Regions from separate parts of the Homo sapiens genome. Here regions 1, 2, 3 and 4 are each linked to region 5. The links are contacts of gene promoters, found by promoter capture Hi-C in blood cells and fetal thymus (Javierre and others, 2016). All regions are on one chromosome and are shown on one strand. The core of a region is centred on a gene start or on the middle of the fragment in contact, and the rest is flanking DNA. Distances in the headings are between cores, read along the strand shown.

The links. Contacts are between HindIII fragments. The CHiCAGO score rates a contact against its expected background, and 5 or more counts as called.
Region 1: a fragment that was not itself captured here is called in contact with the fragment with the promoter of OSBPL10-AS1 in region 5 in 5 of 17 cell types (total CD4 T cells, megakaryocytes, activated CD4 T cells and 2 more); the score reaches 6.5 in total CD4 T cells.
Region 2: a fragment that was not itself captured here is called in contact with the fragment with the promoter of OSBPL10-AS1 in region 5 in 4 of 17 cell types (non-activated CD4 T cells, naive CD4 T cells, activated CD4 T cells and 1 more); the score reaches 6.9 in non-activated CD4 T cells.
Region 3: a contact is called between a fragment that was not itself captured here and the fragment with the promoter of OSBPL10-AS1 in region 5, in 2 of 17 cell types (naive CD8 T cells and total CD4 T cells). The highest score is 5.6, in naive CD8 T cells.
Region 4: a fragment that was not itself captured here is called in contact with the fragment with the promoter of OSBPL10-AS1 in region 5 in 3 of 17 cell types (total CD8 T cells, megakaryocytes and naive CD4 T cells); the score reaches 5.6 in total CD8 T cells.

The regions. Positions count from the first base shown.
Region 1 is chr3:30,781,954-30,784,653 of GRCh38, forward strand. The region is part of intron 13 of GADL1 (glutamate decarboxylase like 1); the gene reads right to left. Among named protein-coding and RNA genes, the nearest start is that of GADL1, 110 kb to the right of the region's middle. The HindIII fragment of the contact is 2,360 bases long and covers 210-2,569 here.
Region 2 is chr3:30,963,966-30,966,665 of GRCh38, forward strand. No RefSeq gene overlaps it. Among named protein-coding and RNA genes, the nearest start is that of GADL1, 71 kb to the left of the region's middle. The HindIII fragment of the contact is 552 bases long and covers 1,049-1,600 here.
Region 3 is chr3:30,927,653-30,930,352 of GRCh38, forward strand. No RefSeq gene overlaps it. Among named protein-coding and RNA genes, the nearest start is that of GADL1, 34 kb to the left of the region's middle. The HindIII fragment of the contact is 5,467 bases long and covers 1-2,700 here.
Region 4 is chr3:30,759,078-30,761,777 of GRCh38, forward strand. The region is part of intron 14 of GADL1 (glutamate decarboxylase like 1); the gene reads right to left. Among named protein-coding and RNA genes, the nearest start is that of GADL1, 130 kb to the right of the region's middle. The HindIII fragment of the contact is 328 bases long and covers 1,276-1,603 here.
Region 5 is chr3:31,702,877-31,705,576 of GRCh38, forward strand. OSBPL10-AS1 (OSBPL10 antisense RNA 1) reads left to right here and starts at 1,337. Exons shown (of 5, transcript NR_049771.1): 1 at 1,337-1,363. The region is part of intron 6 of OSBPL10 (oxysterol binding protein like 10); the gene reads right to left. The HindIII fragment of the contact is 3,023 bases long and covers 1-1,789 here.

The DNA of each region.
Region 1 (2,700 bases), core at 140-2,639, 920 kb before region 5:
AAGAAATAATGTCCAGCGAGGGGTAACCAAGCTGTTCAAATTAATAAGCAAAGCTTTCTATGTTATAGATATTGACTAGGCATCAGGACAAGAAAATGACACTTTCTGAACTTGGAATGAATAGAGGACAGGGTGTACTGAAGAGAGGTGAAGCTAGAAACGAAGATGGGAGTCATGTCATGAAGGACTTCTCGTATGATGTACTTGGAAGCTTGGGCTTGATTCTAGAGGAACATGGAGTCACTGGAGAGTTTCACTATAGGAAATAGATCTCATCTTTGAAAAGCTGCTCTAGCAGCAGTGTGGCAGTTAGGCTGGAGGGATCTAAGACTGGAAGTGGGACACAAGTTAGCAGACAGTACCTAGATAGTACCAACCTGAAGAGTGATGAGATCTTGAACTAAGGCAGTGGCTTTGGGAGTGGAGAAGACTAAGCATTCAAGATATACTTAGCGGGGAAGAAAAGGAGATAGTAAAAACATCAAGATTTTTGGTTAGTGGATCATAGTTCTAATGACCAAAAGAAGAAAGTAGAATTTTGGTAAGGAAAATACTACACTTAAGTTTTTAGAAATGTTGAATTTGAGGTGTCTGTGGCATCTAGGTGAAAATTTCAGGAAATATTCATATACAAAGGCCTGGAGTTTAGGAGCTAAGTTGAGGATGAAGACATACAAAGAGGCTATTGATAACAAAGTTCTGAATGTGAAGACATTTCAGGGAGACTGTGGCCAAAGACAAAGTGTTAGAAGAATATTTAAGGGAGTGCCCTGATGAAAAGTCCCTTACATGGAGACTGAAAAGAACAAGTCACATGGAAAAGAGAAATTGGGAAAGGAAATCAAAGAAACTAAGACAGGGGAGACTATCAAGAGATGGAGTGATGAATGGGTAACATACAATGCTACAGAATTTCAGCAAGATGAAGATTAAAATAATGTGCTTTGGATTTAGCAATTAGGAGGTAGTTATATAGTTTTATTAGATTACAAGATAACAATGTAAGAAAAATCACAATGTGCTTGATACATATTAGTAGGTTCACTATTAGAACATGAATAATTAGAGCTATCTGGAAGAGGAATGAACTAGTGAATTCTCTGCAAATAGGAAGTATTCAATCACAGGTTGACCACCTGTTAACAGATACATTAAGACAGGTTTGCTGCATTGTGCAGGAAGTTGACTATATGTCCTCGAAGATCTTCTATAACTCAGTTGATGAAACATTAATAACTCCTCCTAGTGTAGACCTTGAGAAAAGAAAAAGTTGAATAATTAGGACTCTCCCAAGAGATAAAAAATAAAATATGTGAATTGACAGTGTAAGAATGAATATACCTCTAGGAAAACATCTATTAGATCTTAGATCCAACACAGAAAAATAGAGATGATTTTCAGGGGCCTATGAATAATTCAGAATTCACTTAAAATAATACATTTCTTGAAGATGATTGAAAGTTATTTTTATTCTTTCCAGGAAAAAATACTCAAGTACTGGGTATTGTCTTGTTATGTTCACTTACAATTTCCAATGTTCCACTTTCTCCTTGCTGTTAGACAACAGTGACACATACTCTCTCAAATACATGTACATATACATATATAGACATACAAATGCATATAAGCAAAAAGACTATCAACTTTATATGTGACATTCAGGGTCTAATTCTGCTTTATTCTCAGTGTAATAAAAAGAAAAGCGGCAAATGCAGATCACATACAAAAATCCTTACACCAGGAATTCTGGAAAACCATTTAGAAAACCACCTGCACTGCTTGTGGGCCAGCTGGCTCCCACAGATGAAAAAATCCAGGGGCAGAAGGCTGACTAAAATCCCACCTTAGCTTTCATTGCAAGGACATGAGTGTTTGCAATTTCCTAATGACGATGGTAAGTGGTTTTTCTTTTCTAAGACTTTAGGAAGAATATATAAAGAACTTTTTAATCGGCCCATCTTTTTTCTCATCACTTCCAGCTCTGTCAAAAGACTGTACAGTTTCAAGGTGTATAGGACTTTTCATAAGCACTATAGCTCCCAACACCAGAGAAAATAACACAACTCAAATTGAGAAAATAGAGGAAACTCAAACCCGAGAAAATATAAAGTGATCAAACTCAATTCAAATAGGACTGCTGTTTCTCCCATACATGCTTAGCTATCCACCACTAAAAACTATAGACATTTTCTTACATGTTTATAATGCCATTATGCCTCACAAAATTGACAATTCCTTGACACCATCTAATAGCCAGTTCATATTCAAAACTCCCCAACTGTTACAAGAATTACTTTTTACAGTTGGCTTGTTCAAACTGGGATTTCAACAAGGTCCATATGCCTTATTTGGTTATGCCTCTTCGGTCTCTTTGAACCTAAAGAGATTATCACTACTCCCTCTGTTTTCCTCACATCACCGGCCTGTTGAAAGAAACCAGGTTGTTCTGCAGAACTTCTCGCACTCTAAATTTGTTGTCTTTATAGTACTACCAGAAAGTTGTTTAATTTTTAATCATTTTGGTATGCATGCAAGATCTTCCATATGTCTAGCTTTCTAGCACTTTGGAAGCTTAGAACTTTCTAGTCTGATGCTTCCTTTGTAGATACTAGGGGAATCCATGCTCTAGATTCTCTGGAAAGTATTTCCCAAACTTCCCTGAGGACTATTGTCATATTTCACTTTGGCTACTAAAAACAG
Region 2 (2,700 bases), core at 75-2,574, 740 kb before region 5:
GCCAGAGGAAGATTTCTATTGATGATACTCGTGGAAAAAGATGTGACCACTAGTCCTTTCAAAAGGATCATAACAGATATTGATTCTTAGTTTGGGAGTTTGCCTCATTAAAATACCAAACAGAATTCTACGGGGAATGGGCTATATTGATTGGTTTGTTTTGTTTTATAGGTTTGTTTCCTATGTAACATGTAATTGTATTTTATAGTTGCTATAGTATGCAAGAATTAAAGACCTAATCTGGCTAAACAAGAATTGGCTTATAAATTATGAAACATTCTTTCCCATCAAACTTCTAGATAATTAAACAAAAATTTAGGAAATGTTATCTTTGCTGATTGTTTTGTATTGTGGTAAGAGATAGAAGAAGATAAACTTTTTTTTTCTTCTTGTCACTGTTTAATTTTCTTAGCAATTAAGCCACTAGTAATGAGTTTAGGGATTTCAGAGAAGACTGTTTTTTTCTGAGGTCTATTAAACTGTCTTTTTTTTAAACATGATTTTGCTTCTAAAATTTGAAAATGAGTTGCCATCCAATGGCATGATGGAGGCAGCACAGGTTCTGAAAGTATTCAGACTTAAATTCAAACTCTGTATTTTCCCTTCTGTTTCAACTAAGGCAAGTTACTGAATGGGATATTTTGAGATTTTAGAAAGTTGTTCTTCTGTACACAAGTAGATTTAAAATAATCACTTCTTCCTCCATCTTTTCAGTAGATAGATTGTACTTCAGGTGCTTTGATTCTGCACTTGGCCATCTGACATGCTTTGGCCAATGGGAGTTTAGCAGACATGCTGTAAGCAACATCTTGAAAAATGCTTGCATGTTTGGGCTTGCTCTCTTAGTCTTCTGCCACAGCTGTGAGAACATGTATTAGCCACCTGATTCCAAGAAAAGAAACAGAAACACCTAGAGCAGAGCCACTCACAGCCAACCACAACCTAGATTGGCTGACTCACAGCCAGCCCTTATATTTGTGAATTAAATAAGTGATTATTGCTGTATGGTGCTGGGATTTGTATCACAGTTAACTGATATAGCCTCTCAAGCTTCCTTTACGCATTACCTTCTCCCATTGTTCATGAGGATGGTTCTCTATATGTATTGCCCTTACAGATGAGAAAACACACAGCCAAGAAAAAAGATCAGTTGATGTGCTGAATGCATATGTATATATACAGTAGCAAAACCATTCTTTCTCTCTGCAAGAGTCAAGTTTGTTGAGACAGGAAAGAATTTATGGTTTCCAAGAAGTAGCACCCTGGAAGACTAAGAACATAGCTTTTATACTATAAAACGTATGCTAGGGAATAGTGCTACTAAAATAGAATAGACCACAAGAAAATAAGATGACAGACAGAAGGAGCAAAGATCTGTTGGGAGGTGGCTAGAATTCAGATACAAGAGACCTTAAGAGGGGCTAGCTGAGTCTAACAAAAGAAAGATGAGGAAAAAGCCTAAGTAGGATTTATTTGTGGGTTCTTTTTCTCTTTCCTTTGTTTAAGCCCAATACTACAACTTTCTTTTGGAACTCAAACATCTAATGTGGCACTATATACTATAGATTCACAGTGGCTGAGGGAGTTATCAAGGTAGATAAGCTTAGAGAAGCCTCATAAAACCTACCTACTTCAGTGATAGGTGGTAAAAATAGGCAATGGGTTTGCATTTCATCCTGGGGAATCCTTGTACGTGAGCACAAGGAAGTGGTGATGAGCTAGAAGAGAAGAAGAGACCAGAAAAACTGGAAAAGGAGCACATGGAGACAAGGATCTCAGTACAGATGCTAGGGCTTAAAAATGGGAATACGTCTTAAGCAGAGAAAATGGGATCTTTTCTGGATTGAAGAGTGTTAGCCATTAAGTTCTCAAGTCCCTGTCTTATTTGACATTATCCAAGAAAGAAGCAGAACACAGGAAAATTTTCACATCTGAGGATAACACTAAGGTTTTCTGAGTAATAAATAACAAGTATAAGGAAGCTATAGAAAGATCCCATGAAATCGAGGGCTAAAAAGTGGCAGGTGATACTCAATATTGATGAGAGTCTGATAAAATGTTTCAGGAAAATGATCCTTTACATGAAACAACTTCAAAAGTGTCTCTATAGCCCGTTGATTTATAAATGATTAAAAAGTCAGCCCATGAAGACAAAAAATGGGGAAGACAATATTAGAGAAAGGTGGAAAATGATAAATGAGTGTTAAGTAACTTGGCAAAAAAATAAAGCGTGCCGGTAATGTGAAAGCATATTCAGATTGTGGAGCCCAAAAACCCCCGAAAGCAGAGCTGCCAGATGAAGGGTAGGGCAGACAGCAGAAGAACTGGTAAAAAGCTTATATCAGGAGATCCTCTCTCCTGAACCCTCAGCTACCAAATGGCCTCCTCCTACCAGAGACAGAGACAGAATATTTTTCTCTAAATAAATTCAATGAGGGTAGGTCCAGTTCCTGTATGGCGAGGCACCATATTGAAAACAGAGAGCTAAGGAAATAGCTACATAATTAACAGGCATATCCCCATCCTTCTCTACCCGTTTACAGCATGCTAGCCTACAAGTCTGTAAGTACTAGGCAGGTGATTGGAAATATTTCCTGTAGAAATAGATTAACCCTGGAGAAAGACCCACAGATTTCCCTATTGCAAATGTCATGCCTGATTCAGCTTCATTGAAACACAATGGTTTGACCAACCCATATA
Region 3 (2,700 bases), core at 107-2,606, 780 kb before region 5:
TCAGAATCGAATAAATCTTGTAAAACATGTAGGTGCTCTACACTAAAATCTAGAAAACTTTATTGAGATAATTACCTAAGACCTACATTAATATATAGACACACCATATTCAATAATGAAAAATAATCTATATGATAGAGATGTCAATGCCCTCTAATCTGGAGAATGCTGCATGTTCTAATGTTGGCAAATAACTAGTGAGCTCGCTGTCAGGTCACCTCTGACCTGGTGGCACAGAACTCTAGCTATGGACGAATCTAAAGTCTTGAAATGCATGGTTTAGAAGTCTTTATAAAGTACCCTTTCTGGGGAAAAAGTAGGCAACTGAGAACAGAAAAGTGTCTTAGAAGGAAAAAAAAAAAACCCAACTGGCAGAAATTGGGACTTATAGAACAAATGGGTACAACAGAATCTGAATGTACCTCAACCCTTCTACTCCCCCACAAATGCCACATATTAAAGAAAACGCACCTCACTGCCCTGACAGAAGAGGGCGCTCATTTTTTGTTTGTTTGTTTATTTGTTTTTGAGATAGAGTCTCGCTCTGTTGCCCAGACTGGAGTGCAGTGGCGCTATCTCAGCTCACTGCAACCTCCACTTCCTGGTTTCAAGGGATTCTTCTGCCTCAGCCTGTCATGTAGCTGGGACTACAGGCACATGCCACCATGCCCAGCTAATTTTTGTAGTTTTAGTAGAGACAGGATTTTGCCATGTTGGCCAGGCTGATCTCAAACTCCTAACCTCAAGTGATACACCCGCCTCAGCCTCCCAAAGTGCTGGGATTACAGACGTGAGCTACCGTGCCCAGCTGAGGGCACTCTTACACTAAGAAACCTGTGAGCCATCCAAACCCTTTGCTGTTTTTTTTAATTGATGATCCAGTTAAATCCAGACATTTAAAGACAAGATAGGCAACATCCATATAAAGCAATTATAACAAGAACAAAGAAAATGGGAATTGTTCTTACCTGATGACCATGATCTAAAAAAAGAAACAGCAGAATAAAACTGTAAAACAACACTGCAACGTGATATGTCATGAATAAGTATTTGCAAATATGAGAACACTTCCAATAAGAAATGTCGACTAGGATAAGCAGAAAATAGGAATGTGAAATCATCAAACTCAGAAAATAACTTGAATTTAGGCCGGTCATGGTGGCTCATGCCTGTAATAGTTCAGGAGTTTGAGACCAGCCTGGCAAACATGGTGAAACCCCATTCCTACTAAAAATACAACAACAACAAAAAAAATTAGCCGTGCGCAGTGGTGCACGCCTATAATCCCAGCTACTCGGAAGGCTGAGGCACGAGAATCGCTTGAGCCTGGGAGTCTGAGATTGCAGTGAGCCAAGATTGTGCCACTGCACTCCAGCCTGGGTGACAGAGTGAGACTCAGTCTCAAAATAAAATAAAATAATATATATATATCAGACTAAATATCAAACTCCCTAAGGGGAAATGAAATCGATTAAAAATAAGGAGCTCTGATGAGATGAACGAAAACAGTTATAAGAAAGTGAAACAAAGGATCCAAGAGCCAGTACAAATATTCTTGAAATAAATATAATTGGAATCCATGAAGAAGAAAAAACAATGGGATATAACTAATATTTTAAAACATCATCCAAGAAAACACTCCAGAGGAAAAAAATTCTAGAATACGTATTGAAAAGGCCCACTGTGTGCTGAGAATTGTCAATTTCAAGCTATAACCTAGAAAATCATTAAATCGTAAAGATAAAGAAGAAATACCATGGATCTCTCAGTAAAACAGCAAAGTCATTTGCAAAAGACAGAAAAAAATGGTGTGTATCAAACTTCTCAATAGCAACATGCACAATTTTAAAAATTGAAGCAACATTTTCTCAAAGCTCAAAGATAGTCAGCCAAGATTTTTTTTAATCAAAGTTCTAGAATCAAAGCTATTGAAGAATAAATTTAAACATTTATGAACTGAAAGAATATTCATATGTTCTTGAAAAATTGGCTAGAGTATGACCAAGAGATGATTGGGAAAATGCTGTCAAAATTTTGAGTATATATATACTCAATAGACCCCATATTTCCATGTTATCTTTCCATACTCATATATTGAAGACATATATCGGAGACAAAAAAGTGGTGGTAATGGGGGGAAAATAGTTTGTAAATGTTGTATGTTTTGATAGAGTTGAAACAATACAACTAAAAAGTGAAAGAAAGGACCATTCAGGACATAGGCATGGGCAAAGACTTCATGACTAAAACACCAAAAACAACTGCAACAAAAGCCAAAATTGACAAATGGGATCTAATCAAACTAAAGGGCTTCTGCACAGCAAAAGAAACTATCATCAGAGTGAACAGGTAACCTACAAAATGGGAGAAAATTTTTGCAAGCTACCCATCTGACAAAGGTCTAATATCTAGAATCTACAAGGAACTTTAACAAATTTACAAGAAAAAAAACAAACGACCCCATCAAAAAGTGGGTGAAGGATATGAACAGACACTTCTCGAAAAAAGACATTTATGCAGCCAACAAACATGAAAAAAAGTTCATCACTGGTCATTAGAAAAATGCAAATCAAAACCACAATGAGATACCAGTTAGAATGGTGATTATTAAAAAGTCAGGAAACAACAGATGCTGGCAAGGCTGCGGAGAAATAGGAATGCTTAGACACTGTTGGTGGGAGTGTAAATTAGTTCGACCAT
Region 4 (2,700 bases), core at 190-2,689, 940 kb before region 5:
TTTCCAGTGCAGATCACGATGGAGCTGGTTGGATTTAGTGCTGGCATCTCGTAAGGCAAATCCACAATTCGACAGGCCTCTGCAGATTGGAGCAGAAGCAGCAGCTCCCTGGGCAGCCCAGTTCTAGGGTAGGACTTAGACATCTGTCTCTTTAGCTCTCACAATGATTATGTAAATCTTTAATTATCTATAAATCTTTTTCTTCCAAAATTAGCCAGAGTATATTCTACTCCCTGCACTTGATTTCTAAACAATAGCTAAGAGGAGCTCTTGCCCTTCTTTCTGTACCTCCAGTACTTGTTCCTGCTCATAATTCTTGTTACACTGGACATTTTATTACAGTAACTCTTAGAAACATTTATCTTTTCCTCAAGTTGAAAGCTTGATGGAAGGTGCTATGTCATTTTCACCTTTGATATTTCCCATAGTGCTTGGCACAAAGCATTTGCTGAATTGAACTGAGACACGTTCCCACAGTAACACTGTGGTAAGCTAAAGCCTAATTTTGAATTGTCACTAGGTTTTATTCCACATTTTGTACATTGCTGAACTATGCCTAAACCTGTTTTTTAAAAGTGACCATCTTTATTTGTGGTAGATTAGGTTCTTCAGAAATACGCATATGTATCCTCACTACTTCACTTCCTTAGAAGTAACATTTCCCTGCTCGACTGCCACTGGGTTTGTGCATATGGCTGGATTTGGCTAACTGTAGCATAGTCTCCAATATCTTTTAAGGTTGGGCTTAGTTATGAGATTCACTATGGCCAAGCTAATGTCGGCAGATATAACAGACTCACAAAATGCTCTTATGCAGGTGGACTTGTGCTCTATGCCTCTGTCACTCATAAGAACATGCCTCAGTAAGTTGAAGAAAGATTCACGGAGCCACAGCCACTGCCAGCCAAGTCCAGCCTAAATTAGCTACCTAATATCTCCTTTTTACCTGCAGATTCATGAGTGATAAATGCTTATTGTCTCATATCACTAAAGTTTTGTGATTGTTTCACAGTATTGTCAATAAGTCATGTTTCTAGAGAAATAATTCTTTCAAAGAAAACTTGGATGTACCAGAAAGAGAAGGCATACCCTGGTATGAAGTTTAATGCTTCCCTGTAGGACACTTCCTTCCTGCACAATCATCTTCCTCGAGGTTCATCTCCTTCGTTTCCATAGCAATACATATTACTCATACCCCAGTTACTTACTGGCTTGACCTTACATCTCTTTGTGCCTTATCAATAGATGTTCCTCAATTTTTGCTTCTCTTCATTAAGCTTTAGTCTCTTTTAAATATCATTTTCAGGGACTTGTATCACTCTGTGAAACTCCTAAATTCTGTCCAACCCTGAACTTGTCATAGCCACCAACTTCTAGCTACCAACAGACTGTGTCTAGCTGGCATTCCTCCTAACATCTTACATAAAACTCTCCAAACCACATCCAGCAATATTTCCTTCTGTTTCCTCTTTCTCTTACCATCTTCCAGGCCATCTATACACAAAATCTGTTATCTTCCTCTCACCATACCAGACTCCAAATTTAATAATTACTACGTATCTTAAGTGCTCTGACAAACATTCCAAAGGATTTAGGCTAGTGAAGCTTCTAATTTGAAGGAATACTATTTGAAATCATTCTTGTAAAGCAATGAGTGGTTTTGGTTATGTGACTTGGCCCTGAATTGATTCTCTAATCTTGGGACTTCTCCACATGTTTTTCTTCAGGTGGGGGCAGGGTGATGATGGGCAGCCTGTGGAGCCTCAAATATACTGATAAAGATGTCAAGCAGTCATTTGGTAGAAAGGAAAGGACATAGGGAAACTGGCCATTCCTGCTTCAACTAGAAAATTAAAGGCTGATGTCCTGTGCTGTTCTAAAAAATCAATGGCTAATAAATATTTACCTAGACTGGCAAAACAAGGATTAAAATTTACCATGCAGAACACAACCCACAAAACATTTTGCAACTAGTATTGTATATTTTGAATGGAAAAAAGCTATCGGGTTTCATATAGGCATTTAATGAAGGATCTCTGAAGAGACCCTGGACGTAAATCTTTATATTGTATGCTTTATTTACTTTAATAAAATTCCAGCTTTCCTCTAAATCAGGCTATATTTCTATCACATTATATATTGAGAGATGTTCTATCGTGGATAGCAATGAGAATTCTGAGTCTCCAGGGAAGAAGACAGCTAGAGCCTCTCAGAGCTCCTCAACAAGCTAAGCTAAAATTGACTCAATATTGGTGAATTCTAGACACAAACAACTAAGTTAACCAAATATATGTGGGACTTATTGACAAAACAAGTAGCCAAGTCTTCTTCCAGGCACCCAGTGTCGGTGGCGCACACACATTTTCGCAGTCAATTAACTACAGAACCTGGGGGATAGATATGTTTATTTTTACTGCATGGTATATTTTAGCTCCTATACTAGCCAAATTTTTAGTGCAAAGAATTATTGAGTAAGCTTCCTTCCCTGAATCTGAAGCTGATCTTTGTTCTGTGTCCAGGAAGTCTGAGTCTAAACCAAACTTTATCCAATTGAAACTATCAATCCTCATCAGTCTGTAGTAACTTTTTAAAAAAGGAATGAGATTTTTTTAGACATATCCATTTGTGTGTGAGGGAAGTAGACAAAGTAACATCATTAGACCAGTAAGTAAAAAATCTGGAACACTTTTTCTACCTTAT
Region 5 (2,700 bases), core at 87-2,586:
CCAGGCCACTTCATATCTAATATAAATTTTTCTGTTTATAAGTAAAAGTTGGATTATCCAGGGACTAAAATTATTTATGGAAAAACGTGCTCTAAGACTATTTCTACCCAAATCAATTAGGATCACTCTAGCAGGTATAAGAAAATGCTGAGAATTGGCATTAATTTAGGGAGGAAGACAACAAATGAAAATTTAAGGCAAAACTGAAACTTTATGATACTACTGGGATTCACACTGGCCAACATACCCTGCTTTCCTCGATGCAAGTTTATTAATTCAATCACTCAATTCCAATTTTTCACATTACATAGAAAACAGGCAACTTAATAAACTGGGCAAGGGGATTATTGCACATAAAATTTTCCAGTATCCAAGTATTAAGGACTCTGGTTACAAGGTTAACTTGCCCTCAGAATTCTATTGAAAGAAGTATCCACATTCCACACTCCACATTTACCTATGTTCTTATGATGCTTGCTTACATATAAGCAAAAGCACTCTGCACAGAACATTATACATTTCTTTCCAATTATCAATAACAGGTCAGACATAATATACAGAAATTCAGAAGCTCAAAGATGTTAAACATGAAAGGATACAGACTTGTCCAAATGTCCATGCAAAAAACGAACAATTTACTAACCTCATTAGACAGAATCATCTTATATCTACAGGCACTTCTAACATACAAAGGTTATTTTAGTGGTCAAGGTGTTTAAAATTGTCTGGCCTTACATACCCACACGGACCATTCCTTTCCAACATTCCAAAGAGAGGTAATAACGGTGTTCCTTCCCTCCTGGGGTAGGCATTTTTAAAACTTCAACGTAAATAGACGTTTTCCACAGACATACTCCTAAGGTGTTCTCAATCAGCTCTAAATAACCCCAATTCTAAAGAGATGGTTGGGAAGATCTCAGTGAAGCCCACAGGATATTCCCCCAGCCAAAAGCTGAGTTTTCTTTTATTATGTGCCCAGTTCTCTAGCCACCTCATAATGGGTATTATCTGACGTCATTGGCAAGTTGCTTTGCTAGATTATGCTGAAATAATTGAGGAATCCTTACCTATGCTAACCCTGAGAGGAAGAGCCAGAGAGGGAAGTCTCTGAGCTGTGAGCTACCCTGATTCTACACTGGGAAGTTAGGGGTAGAAGCACACAGGAGCCCAGCACTTACAGCCAGTGGCCCTGGGGGTCTCCTCCAGCTCCACCTCATGACACCCCGTGCTGCTGCGTGACTGCTCCTGGTGCCAAGGCCACCGCTGCCATGAGTCTGAATGGCTAATGCTGAGATTAGCAGGGCCTCCCTTCTACTGGCCTGTCCTCCTGGCTCTCCTCCCTTTTGCCTCTTCTGGATTTCAGGTCAGTTTGAAAGTGGGTGGCTGTCTCAGCTCCCTGTGAGCTTCCATTTCCAGTCTACGCTACGGAAGTCAGAGAGCTCAGACACAAATCCCTCCCAATGGCAAAGGTGCTATAGCTGCAACTTCCTCTGCAGTGACCCGGTGGGCAGTAATCTGTATTAGCAGAATTCCTCTCATGCCAGCACCAGCTGGGGGAGGAGAGGGTAGTGCCTGGGCATTCTGCTTTGGGAAGAAAAAGGACAATCAAAACCAAGTGAAATCCAACCACCATGGTGTACCCAACAGGTGGAGTGGGCTGCAAAGTCCTTAAACATCTCAACAGGAGAAGTAGCTCCATTTTGCGGGCAATTATTTTCTGCTTGAAATTAGCTGTTCTCACCAAGAATGGACTGCATACTAAATCAATTGCTCCACTGAGGCTGCCATAAGCTTCATGAAGCAAAGAATGATTCATTCTTCTAAAGCTGTGATTTCCTATTTGCTCACAAGCCATTGCAGGGGAAATCCTCATCTTTCCCACTCACTGCTACACTCACTGTGATGTGTTTATAGACCTTCGGGGACCACACCTCCTCCAGCTGTCTGCCTTACTCGAAAATTAGACCCAGCTTGTCCCTGACTTCTAGTAGCCAGAAAGTCTTCCACAAGATCCAGCCGCATGATACGGAGTACACACATAAATGTGAAAACAAACCCCTCCATCCTTTCCCACTGTAAATCAACAGCACATGCCCTCTGTGTCTGACAATTCCTCTCAAAGACAGTGGCTCCAGCAGAGGAAATTAAGGCTGGTGCAGGTGCCCCAGAAGCTGAGTCATCCGGGATGACTGGTGGCCCTGAAGTCCCGCCCACAGAAGGACGGCCATGGGAGCCTGGCACACTGCCCCTTGGTGGCACAAATCCTGAGCAAGCCATGCCCTAACCTTAAACAAGGACCTAGGACTGTTTTCTCTCCCACAGCCTCTGAGAACTTGCCCTTTCTCTCCCAATGTGATTTGTAAACAATTCTCCTACCCAGCCTCAAGTAAATATCAGAGTTAAGCTGGTTTCATACACCATGTTGACAGTAAACATCTTAGAGGACACTTTCAATCCACCCACACTGCAGCTCAGTCCATCTGCACAAAGAGAAGACCCCCCCCCCCACCCCCATCGCGGTCCAACTTGGGGGTACATAGATGGAAAGGCAGCAGTAGTCAGCAGGTCAACTCTGTCTGAAAGAGGTCCATGGCAATGTAAATACCAATCTACTGGCAACCACAAAGCACCCACATAGACAGGCACTGCAAGGAATGGAGGGTTTGAAGAAGCAGGTCTTGATGGAGTTTTAAAGACACA